Regions from separate parts of the Homo sapiens genome. Here region 1 is linked to region 2. Evidence: promoter capture Hi-C in human tissues and cell types (Jung and others, 2019). All regions are on one chromosome and are shown on one strand. The core of a region is centred on a gene start or on the middle of the fragment in contact, and the rest is flanking DNA. Distances in the headings are between cores, read along the strand shown. Region 1 overlaps CACNA2D2 (calcium voltage-gated channel auxiliary subunit alpha2delta 2). Region 2 holds the start of CISH (cytokine inducible SH2 containing protein).

Region 1 (5,644 bases), core at 810-3,309, 170 kb before region 2:
CATGAGCCCTCGGGGCCCAGGGATGCATCCACCGTGTTTTCTTCCTGTTCTATTTCTACTCGAGGACCCACCACAGCATCTTTCTGCCGACCCTGGTCTGGGTCCCATCAAGCCCACTGACCTGTCATGTGCCTGCAGGCCTCTGGGTCTCCAGCCCAGGCCAGTTCCCACAGCTATACTTTGACTCACGCTGTCCCTGCATCCCCTCCACCTTGCCCTGCTATCTAAATCCTCTCTAGGGCAAGGCCAGGGAAATGGGCTGGAAGGGGTTTCTGCTGAGAGGAGAGCAGAATCCCAGAAGTGCAGGGGCTGGTCATGCTGCCAGCCAAGCCTGCTCCCCAATCCCAAATGAGCCCTTGAGGTGCAACAGTCCTCGAATGATAGCCCCTAGTGCCACAGCCCTCCCCCTCAACATTCCCCTGAACTTGCTCCAATTGTTCCTGTCTTCTAGGGTGGGCCCTGAGCTGAGCCCCAAATCCCCAGGAGATCTAAGTGACACAGCCCAGCAGATGGTCCCATCCTGGGAGAAAGGTCATCTCTACATTGATGTGGTCCAGGGAGGTGCTTTCCACCTGCAGGCCCAGCAGGAGCCCAGGAGAGCCCAGGGCAACTCCAGTGCACAGACTCTGCCCAAGACTAGCCCCACTCCAGCCCCAGCCTCTAGCCCTGGCTCCTAGGGCCAGCTGGGAAGTGCAGAAAGGCCAGGGTGCACCGGATGCAGAGCCTCAACCACCACAGCAGGATGGCAATGCCCACTGATGTCCTTGGCCCAGAGAGTTAATTAGAAAAAGCCAACTGCTCCCACAGCAGCACAGCCGGCACAGCCCCACCTCTGCTGGACTAAGGAGCACGACGGGGCCCAGCTGATCCCAGGGTGCCCCAGCTCTGTGCCAGCAGTGATAGGGAGGGAGAGGCAGCAGCTTTAACCCACAGAGAGTGCCAGGATGCTGGTGGGACAGGGTAGCAGACTGGAGCCAGGTGGGGATGTGGGGGAGGACTGAGGAACAGGGAGAACAGGGGTGGCTGAGGTCCCAAGGGACAATTCAGGAGTCTGTTTGGAGCCCCTTGTTCCCAGGAATTCCTGGTTCCCCCCCTTGTTTCATGTACTGGTGACCATGGCTCAGCTGGTGCCCTCCTCCCTTGAGGGCACTCCTATCCCACCAGTGATGGAGACCTGCCCCTCCACCTCTCCCCTCCCCCAGGGCTGGCTCTAGCTTCAACCCTCTCTCAGCTCTAGCAGTTCTTCAGTTAGGCATCAGGGCAAGTCCGGCCAGCCCTCCATCCTAGGGCTTCACAGGGCCGTGGGGGCTGATGCCTCCTTAGAAGCCCCGAACCCTCTGCCCAGCCTCCTGCTTCCCCCATGGCTCCGTGTAAGTGGGAGGCGAGCCTGGAGGACCCTTGCAGGAATGGTGACCTTGGACAGGAAGCCTGCATGCTGGCAGGAGCAAAGGGAGCCAGCCTCGTTCCCACAGCTCCTAACAGAGCTGCCTGGGAGAGAGGAGTCCAACTACCAGCCCCAACGTGCCTGGAACATAGAGACAGCCACCACAGGAAACTAAAGGCCTCAGGACAAGTGACCTGGGCAGGCCCCAATCAGAAGGCATTTTAGAAAGTCAGCAGCAAGGGAGCCCAGACCTGAGCTACCAGCAAACCTGCCTAGGGCAAGGGGGAAGATGGAAGGGGAGAGGAAAAGGAGAGAGGAGAGGGGAAAGGAGAGTGGGGAAAAGCAAGGAGGAAGGGCCAAGGAAGCTGCAGGAACAGCCCTGTTTGCCCCGAGTGTTAGCTCTGGCTGCTCTGGGGCAGGTGGTTTACATAGATGACATCACTGATCTCCTACAACCCCTGAGGAGGGTCCATTCTGATCATCTCCATGTGGCAGAGAGGACACTGAAGGCCAGAGAGGTTAAGGCGCATGCAAAACTGCGGTTTGAACTGGGTCGAATCCAAAGCCCTTGCTTTAGGTCATACTCTTTGTACAGTTCTGTACCCCACCTTTATCCCTAAACTTGAAGGCAAAGCCATGGGAAAAGAGGCATAGGGATGAACTGGGCAGGCCTGAAGGGCTTGGGGCGGATGCAGGCAGAGGCTGAAAGACTGAGGCCCCTGGAAGGTGGGAGGGCCATGCTGGAGGGGAATGAGGGGAAGACTGGCAGGGCCAGCCCAATCGACTAAGCACCCACCCAACCCTGGGAGTCAAAACAGGCACTCGCACGCAAGGCTCCTCTCCGCAGCGAAGGTGAACAGCCCTAATCTCTGGAAAATTAAATCAGAAAGAAAATGGAACAAGAAAGATTTGACGCAGGCTTGGCCCTGCTGCCAGCTGTCTCCTCAAAGACCCAGCTCACCTTGGGGTTTTGCCAGGTGCTCCAGCACCCCTGGCCTGAGCCCCGAGGCATGACTCCGGGGAGACTGGCGCTCCAATCCCCTCACCACATTTCACCACAGGGAGCAGCCAGGTGAAAGTCTTAACTGTCCATTAGGCCCCTGCAGGGAGGGCAGCCAGTGGATGAGAGACTGTGGGCGAGGCCTCCTGAGGCCCAACCCAAATAAACAAGCCCTGGGGAGGGAACCACCTCAAGAGGCCACAGGGTCTGCAGTTGGAGGCCGGGGTCAGCTGCCAGACTGGGCTACACTCATGTCAGGGATGTTGGGTGGGTGGCTAGGGGGCTTGTGGTGGCTCAGGAAGCCTGAGCTGGGCCAATGAGGTAGGGCGATTGGCGACAGGTAGTGACCAGTTCAAGGACCCTAGCCAGTCAGGGTAGAGCCAGGTCCGGGCCCCCTGCCTCACCCACCCCTTCTAGGCTGCTAACCTGGCCTTCTGCCTCAGTGAGAAAATAGAGGGTATTGACATAACTGCAAATCCACCTTGAAGACTGGAGAGTTGATGGGGTAACCAGGCACCTGGGGACCCTCTACCACTGACAGCACTTGGGACAGATCCAGGACAGGCTGCACCCCTCAGGGCTCTCCCTATAGCCTAGTTCTTGATGGGACTGAGGGGCTGCCCCATGATGGGTGCACAAAAACCCTAATCTGGCTGCTCTGGGGACACACCAGCCACGAGACTGGGTGTGTGACTGGCAGCTCCCCAGGAGGGGGCTAAGGCCTGTCCCTCACCAGCCTGGCACAGGGCTTACAGTAGGGCAAGGGGCCCCTGGAGCCCTCAGGGCACACTATCGGTGCCCAGGCAGGGGGGCTGCGTGCCACTCAGTTACATGCTTCATCAGCTGCTGACATTTTTGCCAACTGCCATGTTAGGTTCCTAAGTGGCCATGCCACACTGCCACCATCCCAGGCGGGGTGGCCCCATGGTCACTCAGCTGTATATGGTGTCCTGTCACACACAGGTTTTGTACACTGTGATGTTAGTTGTCCCATTAATAATTCCCCTTCATATCCAGTACAGAATGCCTGGGATGAACGCTCTCTTTAGAGGGCATCACAGACACAGAACCAGGCCATTACAATCAGCCTGCACGGGCTACAGTGGAGGTCACACAGCAGTGTGGGAGCAGAGAGGAGGGTGCCTGGCCTGGTCTCCTGGGTGGGCGGCCCATTAATAGCACTATCCTCCCCCACCCCCACCTCCTTACATCCCCCTGGAACAGCAGAGATGGAACAGACCTCGTCCCTGCCCTCCTGGGACTCTCTATCCAGAGGGGACAGATGCCCAGACAGGTGGCAGTAGACAGAGCTGTGCAGGAGACACTTGGGAGTGGGGCTGGCCTGCTCCAGGGTGGTAGGGGGCAAGAAAAAGCCTGGGGAGGGCTTTCCAGGGGAGAGGACATCTGAGCAGTCTGAAAGGCTGGGCAGGGGTTTTTGTGGGTGGACAGGGACGAGGGACGCTTGGCAGCAGTAGCGCCAGGTGCAAAGGCTGGGAGAAGCGGGGATAAGGGACTGCTCAGTGGCTGCAGAGGGGCTTGTTGGGGGACAGAAGCTGGGGAGACAGGGTGTGAGGGCAAGGGGAGCAGATACCCAGGTGGTGGGGACAGGGGGATCCTCCAGGAAGGAGGGACATGTGACTGACCACAAGGTGAGAAAGGCCTGGCGGCTCTGTGGTCCCTCGTCCTCAAGAGGCAACTTCTAGGAGCTTTCACCAGCAAGATTACCTTCACAAAACTCACAGGGGCCTGAAGCCCCCACCACCACCCCCAGCAACGCCTCCCTGTTTTTAAAGTTAAAGTTTAGTTGACTGTCATCCATTACCGCAATTAGTACATTATGTCTAATTATGCAATTAGTGTAAAAAGTGCACTTGCTGCTGAGAATGGGAAATTACGCTGCCTCGTTACGCTGTAAAATCCATGTCATAAAAAGGCTCAATCTCTTGTTTTTCAAAAGACACAAAACCCAACACAAAACAATAAACCAAATCCTCCCAGCCAAGCAAGGGCCAGTCTGTGCCAACCTCCCTGTGCTTGCCCCTGTGCAGAGCCTGCCTGTGAGGCCTGCCCTAAATGTGCCCCCAGGCAAGGCACCACCCACCAGAGACACTGGGCATGGCCCATTCCTGGGTGTAGCCCTTTGCTCCTCTGAAACATACGCGAATTTCCAAACTGACTTGAAAACTGTGGCAATCCTGATTATCCATTTACACCAGGCCTGACTTGAGGCCTCCAGTGTTAAGGCCTGTATCTCAGGGGAGAACAGTCCTAGAAGGAAATGGTATCCACCCAGCTCCAAAATGAGAGGTCCTTTCTCCAAGGTTCCTGATGGCTTCTGTGAACAGGGTTGCAGAATCCAGCTCGGAAGTGGGAGGAACTTTCCCACACTCAGGACTCCCAAAGCCTGAAAGCAACACCTGGATAAGTAGTGAGCCCCCCACCACAGGGACTATTCCAGCCCAGCTGTCAGGAATGCTGAGAAGGGACTCACCCATCATTAGCAAGCACCGTGGCTGGATTCCAGGCTGCCATCGTTAGATAACAGCATTCCTATGGCCGTGTGCCTATGTGAAGCTTGCAGTCTGTGACTTTATCTCCCCTAAATTCTGGCTCCCTTGGTGGTCACGAGGATGCTTTGGGGACAGGTTTGGAGTGAGAAAGAATCAAATGAGGTCTCCCTACTACAGAAGTGACAATCCCAAATGGCCCTGGGCAAGGGGGCTGGAGAGGGGGCACACTCCAGTGTCCCCGCCTGCCTATGCCAGCATGAGGCACACTCCTGTGTACCTCAAAACAAATGCTGCAGGACCAAAGCCATCCACGATGTATCTCCAAGGTCACAAGTTAATGCTCTAGCGTAGGCTGCTGAGTGCCTGCCCAAGAAGCACTTTCCCCAAGCAGCTTCCCTGAGCCCCTGCCTCTGAGCTCCCACCACTCCTTGATCTAAGATGCTTGACCCAGGCCTTGGGGTGGGTGGTGCAATACCACGGAGACACCTTCACAGACAAGAATCTGCCCTGGCCTCCTGGGGATGATGCACGACCTCATGTAGGTGCCACTGCTGAGTGGCACTCAGACAAGGTATTCACAGAATTCACAGAGCAGAGAATCTGAGGCATGGAGACCCACATATCCCAGGGCCCATGGGGCACTGGCTCCCTGCAACCTCACCCACCTGCAATTGTCATCCATTGGTTCTGGGTGTGCTGAGATACTGGAGCACTGACCACACCCCAGAGAGAAGCAACTACTGAGAAAGC
Region 2 (5,025 bases), core at 1,747-4,246:
AAGCCACCTTGATTGTTTCCATGTGGGGATCCTCTTTTGAAAGATTCTTTTCCACTGCCCTGCATTTACTAAACAGTAATTAATTGCTCTCTATTTTATATCAACCAAAAACACAGATCATTCCCTATAGGCATGTCTAATGTTCTCACCACACTGATAGGATTCAGTGCAAAGTAGCTTCATGTTTGTGCCCTCCTGGCTGAAGTGGGCTGATTAAATGGCCCACTGATGAATGGTCCTAGTTGAGATAGATCTACGACAGACAAGTAGATTTATCCTATGATAGATCTGTGTGGGGTCCTCCAGAGAAGCCCCAGGATTATGGTAGGCTGCCTGAGGTCACACGCTACCTCCCCATGGATAGGAGTGTCTCTCAGAGGGACCTAGGTCCACACTGGCCAGGACTTAGAGACTGAAATAATCCCCTACCCATACAAGTCAGCCTATCCTGGCCTCTGCTTCTCCCAGTGGAGGGTCTGGGGTGGACAGTGGCCTCTAAAGGCACTGGCAAGTCTCACCTCCTGTCAGTATGAGCTCCCACCAAGGGCAGGGACCTAATCCACACTCCAGTTCCCACCCTGGCAAGCCAGCCCTACCAGGCTCTACGATCTTGTACAAAGCTTGCTCTTCACTGGGCTTCAGTTTCCCTTTTCCGCAATAAAGGGTCCCACCAACCCATGCACTGAGAGGTTCAGTAACACCATATTCTTGGATGGCTGGGGTTGGGGGAACTGAGCCGACCAAAATCTGAGTAGCAGCTTTCTCCTAGGGGAAGCCCACCCAGCAGGGTGATACTAGGGCTTCCTCCTTGGGAGGGCAGCAGGGACTGGCTCTACTTCCCCAGGAAGACAGCTGCTCCTCCCTCACTCCTTGCAAAATACATCTCCAAGCCTTAGTTCTGGGTCTAGTCCCTGGCTGGGCCTCAGGACACCGCCATAATGAAACCATGGCCTTGCCCTCAAGGAGAACCAGACTGGCTGGGGAAGATGACACTAAGAGTAATTATAATGCAAAGTCATAAAACTGCAGGTGTCACGGGGGAGTCAGGGTCTGCTTGCTCCTGAGCTGTGTCTTCCAGGCCAAAGGAAGGAGCTGGGGGAAGGGACCCCAGGTAGAGAGGACAGCATGGGCAAACAGCGCCAGTATTGCTTGTGAGGCAGGAAGGCGCAGGCAGGAGCTGGTGGCAGGAGCCAGACCTGACTCCTGTGTAGGTTATAGGTGACCCTCTAGGTTCTAACAAATCATGGCCCTATGACCACTCACAGTGAGAAAGGGCCACACAACTCTGGCACACCACAGCCTGACAAAAACTTTTCCACACCTACCCTGGCTGTACTGTGGGATCTTGGAAATCCCTCTTGGAGAGCTGGAGGCCAAATTTTGAGATGACCTGCTTGCTGGGGCCCAGAGCTACCTTCCCAGGAGCATGGTTGGTGGCTAGCCAGTCAGGCTGGAACCTCTGTGGGTGGCCACGTCCAGATAGCTTAGCCGGTCCTCAGATCCCACATGTAGGTGTGGGCACCTTTGGGGCTGATGTGGTAGCTGGGTGTATGAATAGCTGTGTTGATCACCACAAGCTCCTGGTGAGTGTGTACCTGGGCAGGGGTGTGTCCATGGCTGTGTCATCATCATGGTGGGGACAGTGGCTGGTGTGTTCTAGGTACATGTGTGTGCCCGCTTTGGAGCGCAGCAGTCTAAAACTTTGTTCCCTGACACCCAACAGTAGCCCTGAGCTTACAAGGGGGTGCTCACCTAGGGTAAAAAGTGAAAGAGGCTATGGGACCCCGGAATGCAGGGGGAGGCTCCTGGGGTGGAAGGCAGTGGTGGGGCAGGTATTCAGGAGTCCCAGAATGCAGACAGGAGGAAGGAACTTGCTGGAGACAGCAAGGGAGAAGTAGTCTTCCCAGCACCTCCATGTCCTCTTCCTTGGCCTCACCTTCCACCCTCCCTCACTTGGCACCAGGCCAGTTGCGATAAGCACAGCCACCCAGTCCTCCCTGAGTGCAGAACACCCATTTATACCTTCTTCCTCTCTCCTTGGAGCTTCCTGAGCTCCTGTCACATCACCATGGCCAGCATCAGACCCTTTGGTTGAAGGGGTTGCTGAGGTTCAGGACAGAGTGGATGGCCAGGAATGCTCAGCTCAGGTCAAGACTCTGTCTTATCAGCATCCCCTCTCCACTGTCCCTTACCTCAAGTCTGGGAAATTTGAAGATGAGAGGCAGGAGCCAAGGTCCTTCTCACATTGGGATCCCAGACTGGGCTGAGACAGGGTTGTGAGACGATTGTGGGGGTACCCCAAGCAGGACCAGGCCAAACCCAGGGCCTCCCGAGAGTTGCAGACCATCAGGTGCCAGCCTGAGGAAAGGCAAGGATCTGCGGCTGGCTTCCCAAGAAGAGCCTACTTGCTAGCCTGGGGCAGGAGAGGGGACACCAGGACAGAGGGGGCCAGGGGCTGGTCCAAGGTTACTAGCAGGCAGGGCAGCAGGCAGGCTAGCGTAGAGTGCTCTGGGCCCAGAAGAATATCTGGGATTGTTGGCCACATCTTGGGGGACGCCGTGCCGTTAGCATCCATCTGCTCCAATGAGAACCCAGGCTGAGCCCACCCTGTGAGTTCCTCCTTTAGCCGGCCAGCCCCCGGTTTCCCAATCCACAGTGGGAATTGAGGTAAGTGTGTGGGGGCGGGGAGTGGGAGTGTCACAGCCCCACACAGAGCCTTGCTCCTGAGGTCCGTCTGCGCTCAGTCACCTCTGGCCCGTCAAGCCCTCCCAATGCCCGGCAGCTAGCACGAAGCCCCTGTTCTCCCGTGCGCCCCTCGTGGTGGCCGGGAAGGGGGCAGAGAGCCGCGCTTACCCCTGAACGCAGAGGACCATGTCCCCGCGGCAGCGGCGACTCCGGAGTGGGGACTCGGCTGGACGGCGGCGGCTGGAGGGAACCAGTGGGCGCGGAGCGCGTGCTGGGTAGGCTCCCGGGGCGCGCGGGCGCAGGACAGGGACTGAGAGGCAGTGGCGCGGACCGCCTGCGAGGGCGAGGGGGGCGGGCCAGACGAGCGGGGCGGGGCGAGCTGCTGCCTAATCCTTTGTCTGCCGCGTTCCAGCCCTTCCCGGAAGCAGCGTCTTCCTAGAACCGCGGGCTGAGCGGTGGGGCCCGGGCGGGGTGCGCGGGCCCCGTCGCCGGGTCTGGGGCCCTGAGCAGTGAAAGGAAATACTTTGACAGATTTCCAAGAACTTTCCAGGAAAACGGGGCGGGGCCCCGCGAGCTGACCAATCGCGACGCTGAAGGTGGAGCCGAGCGGTCGGGGAGGGCCAATAGCAGCGCGTGGACCCGGGGCTGAAGCTACCCAGAGGGGCAGGTCGGAGAGATCAGTGGGGAAAGACCGGGTCGGGGAAGTTAAGGAGGGGCCCGGGCTCAGCAACCCGCGCCCAGATTGCCTTCTGGCATTCTGCGTCGTTGGGGAAGGGCCCTCTTATCTCGCGGTGGAACTCGTGGCAGGGCGGGGGGCGGAGTCCCGGGCTTGTCCTCCCTGCGAGCGGCTCCTCCAAGGAGGTCTGTCGGCGTGTGCAAGCGCCCCGTGTTGGGACGGCCGCTCCTGGACCCTAGGACTCTGTGTGTCGGGTGTCGGATTGGGTGGCATGGGGTGAGATCTGGAGCGGGACTTAGGGCAGGGCGGGGTGCAGAGGACAGTTCCAGAAATGAGTGGGTCCACTGAGGTCAAGCCGGCGGTCACCACAGCCAGAAAGATCCAGACAAGAACGTTTTCTTTGAAAGAGTTGAAGGAGAAAGCACGCCCCAACTTTTCGAATCAGGCAGACCATCCAGTCTTGGCTGGCACTGGTTTCTGGCCGGCCCTGCCAGTCAGGGGAGAAGAGACTACAGATTTGAGAAAGCAAGCAGAGACAGCCCCAGATGGCCCGGACTCTGGGTTGGTACCACCCCCACCCCCCGCCAGAAAAAAAATGCTGAGAGAGAGTCCTGCAACTCAAAACATAGGGAGATAATCTGGGAGTAGGGTGATAGAGGTTGGGGCGGGATGGCGGGGGCAGAGTAGTAACACTCGCTCTTATCTACAGGGAGTACTTGCTGCATTTGATCCTCTACAACTGGTGTTGCTCCCGTTATGCGGACAGAAGACAGCCCCAGGGAACAAATGCTAGGAAATGGCAGGGTAAGAGCTTGGTCCCAGCTCTGAATCAGAAGCCCACGCTCCTACCAGGACCCTCTCCACCTTTTTTCAGTTCACTGGATTCACTATGGAGCATCTTGAAGGACTGTAGGGTCTGTGAATCTCCTCCAAACCCTTGGGCCAGAAGAACTGTGGGATTTGGAGAGGTTGCAGGGTCCACTCCCCACCCCCATCCCCCTCCCAGTGTGTGCCCCCAGGGTCCCCAGAAAGGAGTCTAGCTCTGAGATCCTGGGCAGGGATGACAGACCCCTGGCCTTGTTGAAGGGCCTGAACGATAGCATCCAGGGAAGACAGGGCTCAGTTTGCTCTGCCCAGAATGGCAGAGGGCAAAAGAAACCTGAAAGCAAAACCCTGTGAAACTGGGGAAAAAACGTTAAGTTTCAGATTTCAGGGCAGTCACTTCTCTGTAGCTTTCCTGAAGGGAAGCCGGGCTTCATGAGTGCAACTCTGCCAGCCCCCTCCTGAGTTGGCCAGAAGCCACTTTCTTGGAATGGGGGTAGGGGGGATGGATACCTTATAACCCACTTTGAGGGCTGGGATACCTGGATAGCCTGATATGCGGCCCCTGTGTGGACCACTGACTTGCCAGTAGGAACTGTCCACTGTCTCATTACTATGAAGACAAAAGGACTTTGCCGCTGCCAGGCAACAGAGTTACAATTTTGAACTTGGGTCTCTTATGGGGCCAAATCCCAAGCTCTCTACCAAAACTATACTTCTTCCCCCTCACCATGACTATTCAACTGAACACTTACTATGTGTCAAGCACTCTCAGCAATTTGCAGCCTCATGTCATTGTCACAACTACCACATATTATCTCCTCTTTACAGGTGAGAAAACT

What was found. The method cuts DNA at HindIII sites, captures the fragments that hold promoters and counts their contacts. A contact is called where the count stands out against the background at its distance.
Region 1: a contact is called between a fragment that was not itself captured here and the fragment with the promoter of CISH in region 2, in 1 of the 25 tissues and cell types used here (H1 embryonic stem cells).

Annotation. Positions count from the first base shown.
Region 1 is chr3:50,437,132-50,442,775 of GRCh38, forward strand. All of the region lies in intron 2 of CACNA2D2 (calcium voltage-gated channel auxiliary subunit alpha2delta 2), which reads right to left. Among named protein-coding and RNA genes, the nearest start is that of CACNA2D2, 64 kb to the right of the region's middle. The HindIII fragment of the contact is 9,524 bases long and covers 1-5,644 here.
Region 2 is chr3:50,608,778-50,613,802 of GRCh38, forward strand. CISH (cytokine inducible SH2 containing protein) reads right to left here and starts at 2,997. Exons shown (of 3, transcript NM_145071.4): 1 at 2,854-2,997. The coding sequence starts at 2,873. It also overlaps a transcript of MAPKAPK3 not described here. RefSeq lists enhancers at 1,956-2,516, 3,426-3,515 and a silencer at 2,866-3,345. The HindIII fragment of the contact is 7,054 bases long and covers 82-5,025 here.